Regions from separate parts of the Homo sapiens genome. Here regions 1, 2 and 4 are each linked to region 3. The links are contacts of gene promoters, found by promoter capture Hi-C in human tissues and cell types (Jung and others, 2019). All regions are on one chromosome and are shown on one strand. Each heading gives the region's core, a stretch centred on a gene start or on the middle of the fragment in contact. The rest is flanking DNA. Distances are from core to core; before and after follow the strand shown.

Region 1 (3,566 bases), core at 942-3,441, 910 kb after region 3:
AAGATACGGATTTTGCAACTGATATCATTAAAGGCATTCATGACCACTGAAGCACATTTGTGTCGAAGAAAACTGAGGGAACAAAATCAGTTTGACAAGGTACAGTGGTAGATGCCTACACATCCCAGCTATTCAGGAGGTCAAAGGCAGAAGGATTGCTTAAGCCCAAGAGTTGGGATTCAGCCTGGGCAACATAGCAAAATCCCACCTCTAAAATTACAAAAAAAGGAAAACAAAGCAATCAGTTGTGTAAATACAACAGCATCTCAGAGCCCCTCAAGTGTGATCCTGACATAGCTGAAGCCATTGTGGATGCTTTCCCACCACCATGTATAGCTGCCTTATGTAGCACGCACAGATGTGAGCAGCTGGTTCCAACACCAGAAAAAGAAATGAAACTTCTCTTGAATACGAGCTGATATTGCTGTGTCTTATTCATCTGGAAGTATGAGATGCAAAAGTAGCAGCTTTTCAAAGCTTTAAGCTTTTAGAATTAAGTAAAGCAAATTCTGCTATAACCAATCCAATATATTCATGTTTCATATCTCAACTAAGATAATTTTTAGTACATGTGTAAATATGGAAGTAGTTATTGTAATGTGGAAGTCATTTGTGAATAGATGTGCATGGTAAGCAAATTGAACGTTATGGTTACCATGTGTTAGGAAATAAAATCATTTTGCTCAAAAAAAATCTAGAATCCACAAAGGTTTGACTCCCAGCTTTGCCACTTATTGGCTGGACAAGTGAGTTAACTTCTCTTAGCTGCATCTATAAAATGAGGATAATACCACCTAATTCATAAGAGTTGATGTGAGGATAAAAAAGAAACAGATACAACCTCTTACATAAAGGTGCTCAATAAAACAGTCTCTTCTAATCAGCTCTGCTGGTCCCTGCCTATTTGAGAAGCAGTCAAGTAAATGGTGCCCAGTCTTCTGACCGAATAGGCGCACAGGCAACGCCATCCTTTCCCCCAACACTGTACTCTCCAGTGCTCTCAGCAAACTAAACCACTGCTGCTTGTTACTCCTTTGGTTCCCAGGACCCATGACCTCATTCTTTCCACTTACTCTAAGAATTAATCATGATTTTCTGGGGAGAGGGGAATGAAAGAAAGTTTAAAAAAAAAAAAAAAAAGTCTTGGAGGTAAATATTTCTGAGACTCTAAAATAGCTGTGAGGCTGGGTGTGGTGGCTCATGCCTGTAATCCCAGGACTTTGGAAGGGCAAGGCAGGCAGATCACTTGAGGCCAAGAGTTTGAGACCAGGCTGGCCAACATGGTGAAACCCCATCTCTACTAAAAATACAAAAATTACCCAGGCGTGGTGGCGGGAGCCTGTAGGTCCAGTTACTTGGGAGGCTGAGGCAGGAGAATCGCTTGAATCTGGTAGGCGGAGGCTGCGGTGAACTGAGATCACGCCACTGCACTCCAGCCTGGGTGACAGAGTGAGACTCCGTCTCAAAAAATAAAGTAAAATAAAATAGCCGTGGGTCTTAAGGAGATGCAGCCCATGATCTGTCTAGGGGGATTATCTTCCCATGATTTTATGTGAAAGGAAAAAGTAAAGGGAGTGTGAGGGGGAAGCAAGTTCTGGTGACTTCCCCATCTCTACCCACACTGGGCAGCAGAATATTCCTCAGGGGCCCCTGGGGAACCGAAACAGAGTTGGGATGGGGACGCAAGTAAGGTGCTGTGGCAGAAAACTTGGGCTTGGAGTGTGGGCCAGTTTCTGCTTTCCACAAGAGTCAAGTGGATACCACCTACTCTGGGCAGATGGAGACCAAGAAGGTTTCCTGCCCCTTGGAATGCCCGTCCTGTGAGGTGTGGCCAGTGTAACCCCGGACTTGGGAAGCTTTTCCATTGGCTAATGTTTGTGTCCCAACATCTACAAAACGTTAAGTGGAATTAAAGATGGGGAAATACCAGTGGTCTCCAAAGCACTCCAAAATTCAGGCAAGGAGGATCGGGTGATCATTCCATATCCTTAAATGTACAAAAAGAGAAACCTCATTCCAATCATGTTCCATATAATCACCATGGGAGGTAAATGAGAGAAGGGATGAAGTAGGAGAAGCAGAGCTTTCCATTTAAAACCACAAGGCCAGGGCTGGCCCTAGAGTCTAGCAGGCTCTGGCCTCAGAGTTCTATGGAAAGCTCTAAATGGAAATATAACCAGCAATGCAATGAGCTCTGAAAATGCTCTTTGGGAGTTCTGAGGGGGAAAAAAGGTACCTTACCCTGGCCCGCTCCAAGCTCCTTCTCTGCTCATGAAATGCGGCTGGACTTTTCAAAGCTGTTGAGAGAAGAACCGTAAAGATTACCTTCAAGCGAAGCATCATGTCTAGTGCTACGATATTCAGTGGAGAAGGCATCTTAAATTCATGTTACTGGCTGGGCGTGGTGGCTCACGCCTGTAATCCCAACACTTTGGGAGGCTGAGGCAGGCAGATCACGAGGTCAGGAGATCGAGACCATCCTGGCTAACATGGTGAAACCCTGTCTCTACTAAAAATACAAAAAATTAGCCAGGCGTGGTGGTGGTGGGCGCCTGAAGTCCCAGCTACAAGGGAGGCTGAGGCAGGAGAATGGCGTGAACCTGGGAGGCAGAGCTTGCAGTAAGCCGAGATTGCGCCACTGCACTCTAGCCTGGGCAACAGAGCGAGAAACCGTCCCCCAAAAAAAAAAAAAAAAAATCACATTACTGTTAGTAGTACTATAAATATCAGTTGAAGTGAAGGCAATGACACCTGAGTAAGCATGTATCTTTATGGTTTAGCTACCCCATTCAAACAGTTTTGGTAGAAACCAAAATATGACTCCTAATGGGAACTGTCACTGCCTAAGCTTGGGCTATATAAAGTGCACCCATGGAATGTAACTTTAACAAACACCCTGGCCCATGACTGGACCGTCAGCCGCAAATCCCCCTTCAGCTAGGACTCCAAGAACGCCTGCTAGGCCTCACATTATTCTCAGGACACCTGCACACAGGAAGGGGCACAGATGCATGCCAAATTAACCTTACTTCCTCAACCTCACGAGGAATCATAAAGTGGCCAAACTGTTTCAATGGGACAGTTAAAACCAAAAAGATATATGTCCACTCGGCACTATTTCCTTCTTCACTGCACCTGTTATTTATAGTGCTGCTAAAATTAACTTGAATTTCATCTCTAAGGACTAAAAGAACCCCATGGCAATTGTATGTGAAGGAACACACACAACCGACAGCTGAGACGAAGGGCTCAGCTCTATTCTGGGGATACCACACAAAGACCACAAGTCTCGACTTCTGCAAACAACACTCAGGTGGCAAGACCAAACCAAGAGCCTCCAGAAAGGCTGCACCATGAATGGAAGGTCTGACTCCTTTTGTCAAAAACTTGGCTGTAAGGACAAATAGCAACTTAAGACACTCTGAGGATGAGAGGGAAAGGCCTGACTCACTTCAAGTAGGGAACAGAGGCAATAAGAGAGAAATTTATAAGACTGTGGTCAGTTTCACTTCTCCTGCCCTAGAATTTCCAAAGAGCTGTGAAACTGCGAGCAGAGATAACTTTTG
Region 2 (3,272 bases), core at 265-2,764, 730 kb before region 3:
GACACAGATACACTAGCCTAAGCCTACACAGGGTCAGGATGCTTAGTGTCACTATCTTCCACTACCACATCTTGTCCCGCTGGACGGTCTTCAGGGCAATAACACGCATGGAGCTGTCATCTCCTATGATAACAAAGCCTTTTGCTTGAATACCTCCTGAAGGACCTATCTAAGACTGTTTACGGTTAAATTTTATTTTCTTATAAGTAGGAGGAGTGTACACTGTAAAATAACAATAAAAGTGTAGGATAGTAAACACATAAACAAGTAACAGTCATTTATTACCATTATCAAGTATGATGTCCTGTACACAATTGTATGTGCTATATTTTATATGACTGGCAGCACTGTAGGTTTGCTTACACCAGCATCACCACACACGTGAGTCATGCATTTTGCTTTGACATTACGATAGCTATGTAACTAGGTGATAGAAATTTGTCAGCTCCATTATAACCTTAGGGCACCACCGTGGTATCTGTGGTCTTTCTTGACCAAAACGTTGTTATATGGTACATGACTGTATTTCAATCTCCATCTGTCCCCTCCCCACCCCTAAGTAACCCTAACCATGGAAGCCCAGGAGGAAGATCAGAGAGGGTCAACTGGAGAAATGACAGTTCATGCTGACCGGGTTGATAACATTTCCCAGAGAGGGAAAATGTGGTGAAGAGACAAAGGAAAGAAACTAACAAATACTGAATCTATACTGGACTGGACTCTGTACTTCATATTAGCCTCAGAATTACCAAAGGAGATGCACCGACGTATACTGATTTTACATATGCACTGATTAAAAGCGCAGGGAGGGTAGGTCTTGAGACTGGGAATCCAAATTAGGTTTGCCAAGTTATTTTCACAATACACGATACCTCCCATTGGGGAGCACATCCTCTCGGAAGCCTAAAGTTGGGTCAAAGAACAACGACATCCTAGAACGTCAGAGTGGAAGAGGCCTTAGAGATCACTCAACTCAACTTCTCATTTACAGATGGGGAAACTGAGGCCCAAACAGGGGAAATGACCAGCCCAGAATCCCAGTAAGTCGCCAACTCTCCAAGCCAAGAGCGGTCTGACCTAGTTGATGGCGACCCCGCGGGAGAGGGAATTACTCCGCGAAAGGTCGAGGGATCAAGGTGCTGGGGGAAGTCGGCTAAAGGGGGACGCGGGACCACGAAGCTGGGCAGGCCTTGGGTGGGTGGGGAAGAGCAGCCGGCAGAGTCGCGATGGCAAACCTGTCACGACAGAGCTCGCAGGTCCCGAAGTGGGGGTGAGGGTGGGGGTTGAGGATGGGAAGACCTGGGGCAGGGGAACAGCAGGCAGGAGACCGAGGTGGGGCCTCGGCGGCGGGCGAGGCCTCTTCCGCCCTGCGTTGCCTCCCGCCCTCCCTCCGGGCCGGCCCTCCCCGCCTGGCTGCCCGCCGCGCCCCGGGGCCTCACCTGCTCCTGCGGGGGCCGGAGCCGGGGCCGCAGCCAGCGAACCCCCGCCAGGGTTGTCAAGGAGCGAAACAAGAGTGTCTTAGCAACCAGCAAGGAAGTCCTGCCCCCTCACCGGACGTTGACGAGAATTTCACTTATTATTGGTGGATAAAAGTATCAATCAGAGTGAAAGGCCCTTATAAGTCAGGCGTTTGCAAGGACAGGGGCGTGGTTTAGAGGCCAGGGAGGCGGGACTTCACTTATAGTTGTCTTAAGCGTGCCCGAGGAGCAGGGGACACATTGAAGTTCTTTTTCTAGGGAAACAAACTTCGAAAAGCAGTACTGCCTTGGGAGGTTCTTTTAGTCACTTGAAATAACAAATGCAACTTGTTGGTGTCGTGACACTTAGCCACTACTTTATTGGGATCTGAAAAGCCTGATAATAACTAGCATTTTTGTAGGGCTGTACAATTAATATCTCACTTGATTCTCATTACAGTACTTTTAGGTGATAATATTCGTCATCCCATCTGAACTAAAGTTCAGAGAGGTTAAGTAACTTGGTAAAGGATGGAGGTAATCTCCCTGGAGAAGGAACCCAGGGGCTCCTTCCTCTGTGCCACACCCTTGTATGGTCACCTAGCTCTAGTCACTAGGAGACATTTGTACCACCTAATTTCAGACACAGTTGCCCAGAGCCTGCCTTTTCTTCCCCTTGGGAGGGAAAATTAATCCGAAAGTACGGAGAAGGAAAAGGGGAAAGGGGAAGAACTGGCGGATTCTATTATTTGATTGGTAGATCAAAGGGTCAGTTGGGTACTTCGTAGTTTAAACCTTTATTATTGTGATGAGTACTTGGGGTGAAACCCCACTGCCACATTTACTAGCATTGAAGCTGTCTTTGCCAAAATTATAACTGAGGAAATTATGACAGTGAAAGAGATCAGACCTAACCCACTCCATCTTGCCTTTCTAGCCTTTAAGCTGTCTTTGTTCATTCCTAGGCATAGGCTGAACGAACCTTGGGAAGGAATTTAGTTTATAGTTTTACTCTGAAACAAAATTGACAATAGCCCTTTCCCAAAAAGGCTCCCTTCCTGCCTTGGGACCAGTCTGCCTTTGTAGGACTAACAAATTAGCTACAACATTAGAAATTATGGTTTAGGGGTCACACAGCAGCCTCTGGCTGCAAGAGTCTGAACCTTCCCAAATTGCTCCTGGGGATAACATCACTATTGTAAAACCTAAGATCAGCGCTTGAGATATTTTGCAGACCCTGCGCTCGATGGATCAGCTGACACCACCCAGACCAGTAATGTGGCTCAAACAGTTCTGTGATCCCACCCAGGAACAGAAGACAGCAAGAAAACCTCACTTCGACCCCCTCAGTATTCCATCTTCGACTTAATCAATCAACACTCCTCGCTTGCCAAGCCCCTACCCACAAAATTATCTTTAAAACCTCTGATCCCTGAATGCTTGGGTAGCATATTCAACTGCCTCCTAGCCATGTGCACCAGAATGTTCCACAAGCCCTTCAAACTCAGTGTGTCCCAAACTGAATTGATCATCTCCCTCCAATCTGCTCTTCCTGCATTCCCCATTCCAGTAAATGGCACCACCCCCGACCCAGTTGCCTCCATCAGAAAACAGGGGGGAGTCCTTCACCCTTCCCACTACAACAGCCCACTTCCAGTCACAAGCATGCCAATTTCGACTCCTCACTATTTCCTGATACAGCCTTTCTGGCCACGTTCATGGCACCCTCCATGTGCACAACACCACAATCCCATCTACCTGAGTGCAATCTCCTGGTGGGACTCCCTGGCTGCAGTCTTGCACCTCTCTAATTTA
Region 3 (3,425 bases), core at 355-2,854:
TTTACAAATGAGGAAACTGAGGCTCAGAGAGTATAAGTCATTTAGCCAAAATGTCCCAGCCAGGATTCTTTTGGATGCGCTCCCCAAAATCTGTCTTCTAACTCCTACCCCATACTCCCTCCACTGGGAGCCTTGTGACTTTGAGCAAGAAGCTTCATCCCATTGGGCCTCGGTTTACCATTGGAAAGGATTTGTGGGCGAGGTTGAATGAGCGCAGCAGATGGCCTGTGGTTATTTAGAGCAGTGCTTCCCTGGTTGTTTGATATCACAGCGCTCATACTTGTGTGGCCCAGTGAAATGGAGGCGGAAACTCAAAGTTTCCACCTTCACAGGGCCTGACTGGAAGGGGCTGAAGGATGATGGGGAGGTTTCTTGTATTCTTAAAACAGACTACCCCTTCCCAACGCACAACCCCCAGTAAGTGGCCGTGGGTTCCCAAGCGCCTCTCCTCCCTGGGCCATGGGCGTGACTGCTGAAAAGCGGGTTAGGCCGGGGAGTTCAGAATCCGGAGTGAATCCGAACTACCCCAGGGAGACGGCAGCGAAGAAAATCTTGTTCTTAGGAGAACGCAATCTTCGGACACCAGAAGTTCCTCTATGATGCTATTCTGTGGCAGCCTTGCACTTGAGCCGGATGAAAATTGTAAAAACCCAGGTTGGGCGACAGGACGGCGCGTCTTCCCGGCTCCTTTCCAGAGTTTAGGAGGAGCCATGCAGACTCAGCCGGCCTTTGGGGGTAGGTGGACAGGCCCGGCGCGCCCTCTCGAGGCCCCTTCAACCTCCCGGGGGCAGCAGCGCCGTGTCGGCTATGAATGGGGCCTCTGGAAAACTCAGGCTTGGAACAGGTAACCCCCCGGTTTCCGCAGGCCACAAATCACCACCCGCAACCGAAGGACGCGCAGGCTGGGAGCGGCGGCGGGGCCACCAGTGCGGACCTCCACTGAGGGCGGCGGGATCCGACCGCAAGGGCTGGTCCCTGAGGCCACTAAGGGGTGCGCTGGGCTAAGGCCGCCTGGGGGCAGGAGCCAGCGCGATCGTGGCGGGCCAGCAGGCGGGGCTGGCTGAGGACTAGCAGCGACCCGAGACCCCAACCCTTCCCACGCGGACCCCGGGATCCCTCTCCCAGCAGCCGCCCATCTAGGGCCCTGAGCCAATAAGAGCTCGAGATATATATGATTCACCGGGCCTGGGCCAATCACCTTGACGCGCGCTCTTCGCCAGCACCTCGCGCGATAACCTGGCGTCCTCGGCCTTCACAATAAAAACTCTTCGCCGGAAAACGACCTTTCCCCGCCCACTGCGCTGACACCGGAAGCGAGGCGTGTCTGGGAGATCACTCCGCGCTCCGGCGGCGAAGGAAAGAACGGACTCTGATCATAGAAGCCTAGTAAAGTAGTACACCTCTCTCCTTTCGTGAGGCCATAAGAACAAACTCCTTTTCTCGTCACAGCTACGCCCTGGGCATAAACGGTTGGGGCGTCAAAGGGAGGGAGGGAAGGGAGCGGGCGGGAGGAGACGGTCACGTGGTCGCGGCGGAAGGATGCGTCTGTGCTGCGTCCCCATAGAGACGAAGTCTATAAAGGGCCGGCGGGCGGCCACGGCAGCCATTTCTACTTTGCCCGCCCACAGATGTAGTTTTCTCTGCGCGTGTGCGTTTTCCCTCCTCCCCGCCCTCAGGGTCCACGGCCACCATGGCGTATTAGGGGCAGCAGTGCCTGCGGCAGCATTGGCCTTTGCAGCGGCGGCAGCAGCACCAGGCTCTGCAGCGGCAACCCCCAGCGGCTTAAGCCATGGCGTGAGTACCGGGGCGGGTCGTCCAGCTGTGCTCCTGGGGCCGGCGCGGGTTTTGGATTGGTGGGGTGCGGCCTGGGGCCAGGGCGGTGCCGCCAAGGGGGAAGCGATTTAACGAGCGCCCGGGACGCGTGGTCTTTGCTTGGGTGTCCCCGAGACGCTCGCGTGCCTGGGATCGGGAAAGCGTAGTCGGGTGCCCGGACTGCTTCCCCAGGAGCCCTACAGCCCTCGGACCCCGAGCCCCGCAAGGGTCCCAGGGGTCTTGGCTGTTGCCCCACGAAACGTGGCAGGAACCAAGATGGCGGCGGCAGGGCGGCGGCGCGGGCGTGAGTCAAGGGCGGGCGGTGGGCGGGGCGCGGCCGCCCTGGCCGTATTTGGACGTGGGGACGGAGCGCTTTCCTCTTGGCGGCCGGTGGAAGAATCCCCTGGTCTCCGTGAGCGTCCATTTTGTGGAACCTGAGTTGCAAGCAGGGAGGGGCAAATACAACTGCCCTGTTCCCGATTCTCTAGATGGCCGATCTAGAGAAGTCCCGCCTCATAAGTGGAAGGATGAAATTCTCAGAACAGCTAACCTCTAATGGGAGTTGGCTTCTGATTCTCATTCAGGCTTCTCACGGCATTCAGCAGCAGCGTTGCTGTAACCGACAAAGACACCTTCGAATTAAGCACATTCCTCGATTCCAGCAAAGCACCGCAACATGACCGAAATGAGCTTCCTGAGCAGCGAGGTGTTGGTGGGGGACTTGATGTCCCCCTTCGACCAGTCGGGTTTGGGGGCTGAAGAAAGCCTAGGTCTCTTAGATGATTACCTGGAGGTGGCCAAGCACTTCAAACCTCATGGGTTCTCCAGCGACAAGGCTAAGGCGGGCTCCTCCGAATGGCTGGCTGTGGATGGGTTGGTCAGTCCCTCCAACAACAGCAAGGGTGAGTGGGCCACCACCACATCGTCCTGGTGGGATCTAGGGTTAGGGGCCTCCTACCTTTGTATCTGACTCACTTGGCCCCATCACTCAAATGTTTTGCAGAGGATGCCTTCTCCGGGACAGATTGGATGTTGGAGAAAATGGATTTGAAGGAGTTCGACTTGGATGCCCTGTTGGGTATAGATGACCTGGAAACCATGCCAGATGACCTTCTGACCACGTTGGATGACACTTGTGATCTCTTTGCCCCCCTAGTCCAGGAGACTAATAAGCAGCCCCCCCAGACGGTGAACCCAATTGGCCATCTCCCAGAAAGTTTAACAAAACCCGACCAGGTTGCCCCCTTCACCTTCTTACAACCTCTTCCCCTTTCCCCAGGGGTCCTGTCCTCCACTCCAGATCATTCCTTTAGTTTAGAGCTGGGCAGTGAAGTGGATATCACTGAAGGAGATAGGAAGCCAGACTACACTGCTTACGTTGCCATGATCCCTCAGTGCATAAAGGAGGAAGACACCCCTTCAGATAATGATAGTGGCATCTGTATGAGCCCAGAGTCCTATCTGGGGTCTCCTCAGCACAGCCCCTCTACCAGGGGCTCTCCAAATAGGAGCCTCCCATCTCCAGGTGTTCTCTGTGGGTCTGCCCGTCCCAAACCTTACGATCCTCCTGGAGAGAAGATGGTAGCAGCAAAAGTAAAGGGTGAGAAACTGGA
Region 4 (3,603 bases), core at 18-2,517, 600 kb after region 3:
TCCCAAGTTTTGGTAGGGAAGCTGAGACTGAGACAAATTGAGTAAATTCCCTCAAGGTCACACATCCGTAAGCATTCGGGTCTGTTGGACTCTTCAGTGACGGCCACAGCTCCCCCTCCAGGTTCCAGTCACTGCCCCTTCCGCTTCAGGTCTAGCAATAGTAAGGTTCCCAATTGTTGTCAGCCACTGGGTGGTTCAGTAGCCTTTGTTGGTTTCCCTATTTCCATTCTAACATGTTGGAAAACTGAGGGCTGTAGTAGTAGAGAAGGTAAGACTTGGGCCTTGGTAGGATCTTATTGGGACACGATGGATTTTAAGAAGTGAGTGGAGGGGCAGAAGTCTTGGTTAAAGCCTTGGGTAGAGGGTGATAGCATGGGGGAGGAGAGATGACAGTGTGCAGTGTTGGGGGATAGGGAGGAGGAGTCGGTAACGGGAAATAGCAGTGATTGTCAGAGAAGGAAAAAACTAATTTAGCCAGGCAAGTCAAGCTAGAAAGAGACTTAAGAAAAATAGAACAGCCAAATAGGAGAATCCAGAAAGGATGAAAGTAAAAAGATTAAAGCTGAAGGAGAAGCCAGCAAGTTGAGAGCAGTGCCCTTTCATAGAAGAAACAACCACTGCCATCCCTTCTTCCTCTCCCGACCTCCTGTCTCCAGTCAGTGCCTCCCACTGGCTTAGCCCAGCCAGCAGCCAGAAGATAAGGAGCCCAATGATGGTGTCCCCTGGGGCACACAGTTAGGCGGAGAATGGAGCGTGGGTCTGGAGGAAGCAGACAGTACAGCACCAGACCAAGGAGTGTGCTGAGCACAGGCCTGCAAGCATGAATGGAGTTCCAAGGAGTTTTTCTGGTTCAGCTATGCCTATAATGCATCATCTGGTTCAGCTATGCCTATAATGAAACAGAGAAATGCAGTCTCTGTTTCAGTGAAGTAGGAGAACTTAAAGACATCTGTGAAGCAAATTACACATAAAATCTTTCTGGATAAGTTATTGAGTTTTTCCAATGCTATCAACCTAATTTTTATAGAAAGAGAACTTTTTTTTTTTTTTTTTGCACAACTGTGATAAATAGGTGAGGGACAAAATCAACTAGAGAAAGCCTATTTTCACTTGCTGTGAGCATCCCTCATGTGTTTTACAGAGAGGATGGGCAATGTTGATTAAGCTGGGAGCAAGTGAATGGATATCAATTGAGAGCTTCTACTGTACTGATTTTACACTTCACATCACATAAATATGCATTTGTTCCCAACAAGACCTTGCTAGGTGGGTGAGCAAAGTAGATATTTTGGTAACCCCTTCCCACCCAGTAGATGAGGCAACAGCTTCCTGGAAGTGCCTTCTTAGCCTTGAGTCTTGGCTGGTTATAGAGAAGCCTACACCAAAACAGATCATCAAGCGTTGTGCATTAATAGATTTTTCTTGCACACACAAAAAACATACACTACCAGCATCTTTTTACCTTTTTTTTTTTTTTTTTTTGAGACAGGGTCTCACTCTGTTGCCAAGGCTGGAGTGCAGTGGTGTGATCACAGCTCACTGCAGCCTTGACCTCCTGGACTCAACCAGTCCTCCCACCTCAGCCTCTCAAGTAGCTGGGCCCACATACATGTGTCACCACGCCTGGCTAATTTTTGTATTTTGGGTAGAGGTGGGGTTTCGCCCCCAGGCTGGTCTTGAACGCGTTAGCTCAAGCCATCCACCTGCCTCAGCCTCCCAAATTGCTGGGATTATAGGCATGAGCCACTGCACCTGGCCTTTTTTAGTTTTTATGTTTTGTAGCTATGAGCTTTAGAGTAGCTGATAGGTTTGTAAATATTCATACCTGTATTATAATGGAGATTTGTGTCATTTGAATAATTATTCCTCAATAGGGCCAGGAGCGGTGGCTCACGCCTGTAATCCCAGCACTTTGGGAGTCTGAGGCGGTCGGATCACGAGGTCAGGAGTTCAAGACCAGTCTATCCAACATAGTGAAACCCTGTCTCTACTAAAAATACAAAAATCGGCCGGGTGTGGTGGCAGGCGCCTGTAGTCCCAGCTACTTGGGAGACTGAGGCAGGAGCATCGCTTGAACCCAGGAGGTGGAGGTTGCAGTGAGCCAAACTCTCACCACTGCACTGCAGCCTGGGCGACACAGCAAGACTGTGTCTCAAAAAAAAAAAAAATATTCCTCAATAATTACATATGTAATGAATTCTTGAAAATGTTGCATAAATTTTTAGTAGTTTCCTTTTGGTACATTTTAATTCATAAAATTTTAACAAACTTTTTCTTGACTCATTTTATTCTTTGAGGAAAACTTAATTACTTTTTACTGTCTTGCCCTATAAATAGTCTCATATAAAAATAAATGAACTGACATTTAGTTTATTAAGCACATTTCCTAAAAATGAAAAGTGGGGCCAGCCATTATAGTGTACTTTAATTTCAGTTATAAAGAAAGCAGGAACGTTATTCATAAATTATAAGCCCGGGAAACCCTGCCAATTCCAATAGCCTTAGCCTAATACCCAGGCACTGTGACCTGCAGGGGCGGAACAACAGGTGCGCCGCTTTGCTCACTGCCATACTTTCTTGCAGGTCAGTGTCTGCTGTAAGAATTTCACCACCACCTCTGCCAAAAGCCAAATAAAATAGGGAAAGAAATCTAGAGCTATTAATATCCCAATGCTGGAAACCTTTCCTATCTACCCTTCTCCCCCAAGATGGGAAACATTCCCTCCCTGCTTCTCTCCCTCCCTTTCTTACCTTTAAGATGCATGTGCATAGACACACACACACACACAAAGTTACTCAAAGTTACTTCACAGTATCTGTGGCCTTATTGAGAGAATTTCAGTCTAAACCTTTGAAAAAAAAATTTTTTTGCCCTGAATTCCTTACATACTTTTTTCTTCTCTCTTCTTTTAGGCAGTATTTTTGTGTTTCTGCAGAGTTTTGCACAAAATCTGTTCCCATGCAAACCAATGAGGGAGAAGTATCGGAAGAAAGCAGTTCCAAGGTCAGTAAATTACTGAAAGGTACAGTTTGGGTAGAAATTGAACAGTAGAGGCTGTGGATGAGTAGAATGGGTATTTCATTTTACATGACTGTAAAAATTCGATTGAGTTAAATTAGAACCTAACATAAGATTGAGAAATATTTTTTCTTTTCAGTATACTTTTTAATCCTATATGCTAATTTAAAACAATTTTACTGAACTACAGAGAACTTTATAATTTATTTTTAGAACACTAATACTATGTCTTTTAAAGTTTGTTACGAAAGTTACTATAGGCTTATAAAAAATCAGAAGTATATAAAGTCAGGAGTCAAAGCTGGTCCCCTGTTCCTGCTGCACAGAGGCAGTCACTGATAATTTTTAGGTGTTTTTCTATTACAAATTTTATTTTATTTTATTTTAGATTTAGAGGTACACGTGCAGGTTTGTTGCATGAGTATGTTGTGTGATGCTGAGGCTTGGGGTACAAGTGATTCCATCACTCAGGTAGTGAGCATAGTACCCAAGAGCTTGTCTTTGAACCCTTGTTCCCTTCCCTCCCTCTCCCTTTTGGAGTCCCCAGTGTCCACCGTTTCCATCTTTATGTCCACATGTACCCA

Evidence for each region. Contacts are between HindIII fragments. The study calls those that stand out against the background at their distance.
Region 1: a fragment that was not itself captured here is called in contact with the fragment with the promoter of ATF4 in region 3 in 1 of the 25 tissues and cell types used here (lymphoblastoid cells).
Region 2: a contact is called between the fragment with the promoter of DNAL4 here and the fragment with the promoter of ATF4 in region 3, in 1 of the 25 tissues and cell types used here (spleen).
Region 4: a contact is called between a fragment that was not itself captured here and the fragment with the promoter of ATF4 in region 3, in 1 of the 25 tissues and cell types used here (lymphoblastoid cells).

The regions. Positions count from the first base shown.
Region 1 is chr22:40,433,258-40,436,823 of GRCh38, forward strand. MRTFA (myocardin related transcription factor A) reads right to left here. Exons shown (of 15, transcript NM_020831.6): 5 at 2,242-2,297. Among named protein-coding and RNA genes, the nearest start is that of SGSM3, 64 kb to the left of the region's middle. RefSeq lists enhancers at 3,034-3,093, 3,354-3,483. The HindIII fragment of the contact is 3,423 bases long and covers 481-3,566 here.
Region 2 is chr22:38,792,629-38,795,900 of GRCh38, forward strand. DNAL4 (dynein axonemal light chain 4) reads right to left here and starts at 1,515. Exons shown (of 4, transcript NM_005740.3): 1 at 1,440-1,515. RefSeq lists a silencer at 1,257-1,706. The HindIII fragment of the contact is 13,707 bases long and covers 1-3,272 here.
Region 3 is chr22:39,518,958-39,522,382 of GRCh38, forward strand. ATF4 (activating transcription factor 4) reads left to right here and starts at 1,605. Exons shown (of 3, transcript NM_182810.3): 1 at 1,605-1,794; 2 at 2,397-2,714; 3 at 2,816-3,425. The coding sequence starts at 2,489. RefSeq lists a silencer at 943-1,142 and enhancers at 1,523-1,672, 2,033-2,082. The HindIII fragment of the contact is 4,198 bases long and covers 1-2,986 here.
Region 4 is chr22:40,122,859-40,126,461 of GRCh38, forward strand. It overlaps a transcript of TNRC6B not described here. Among named protein-coding and RNA genes, the nearest start is that of TNRC6B, 53 kb to the right of the region's middle. The HindIII fragment of the contact is 5,757 bases long and covers 1-3,603 here.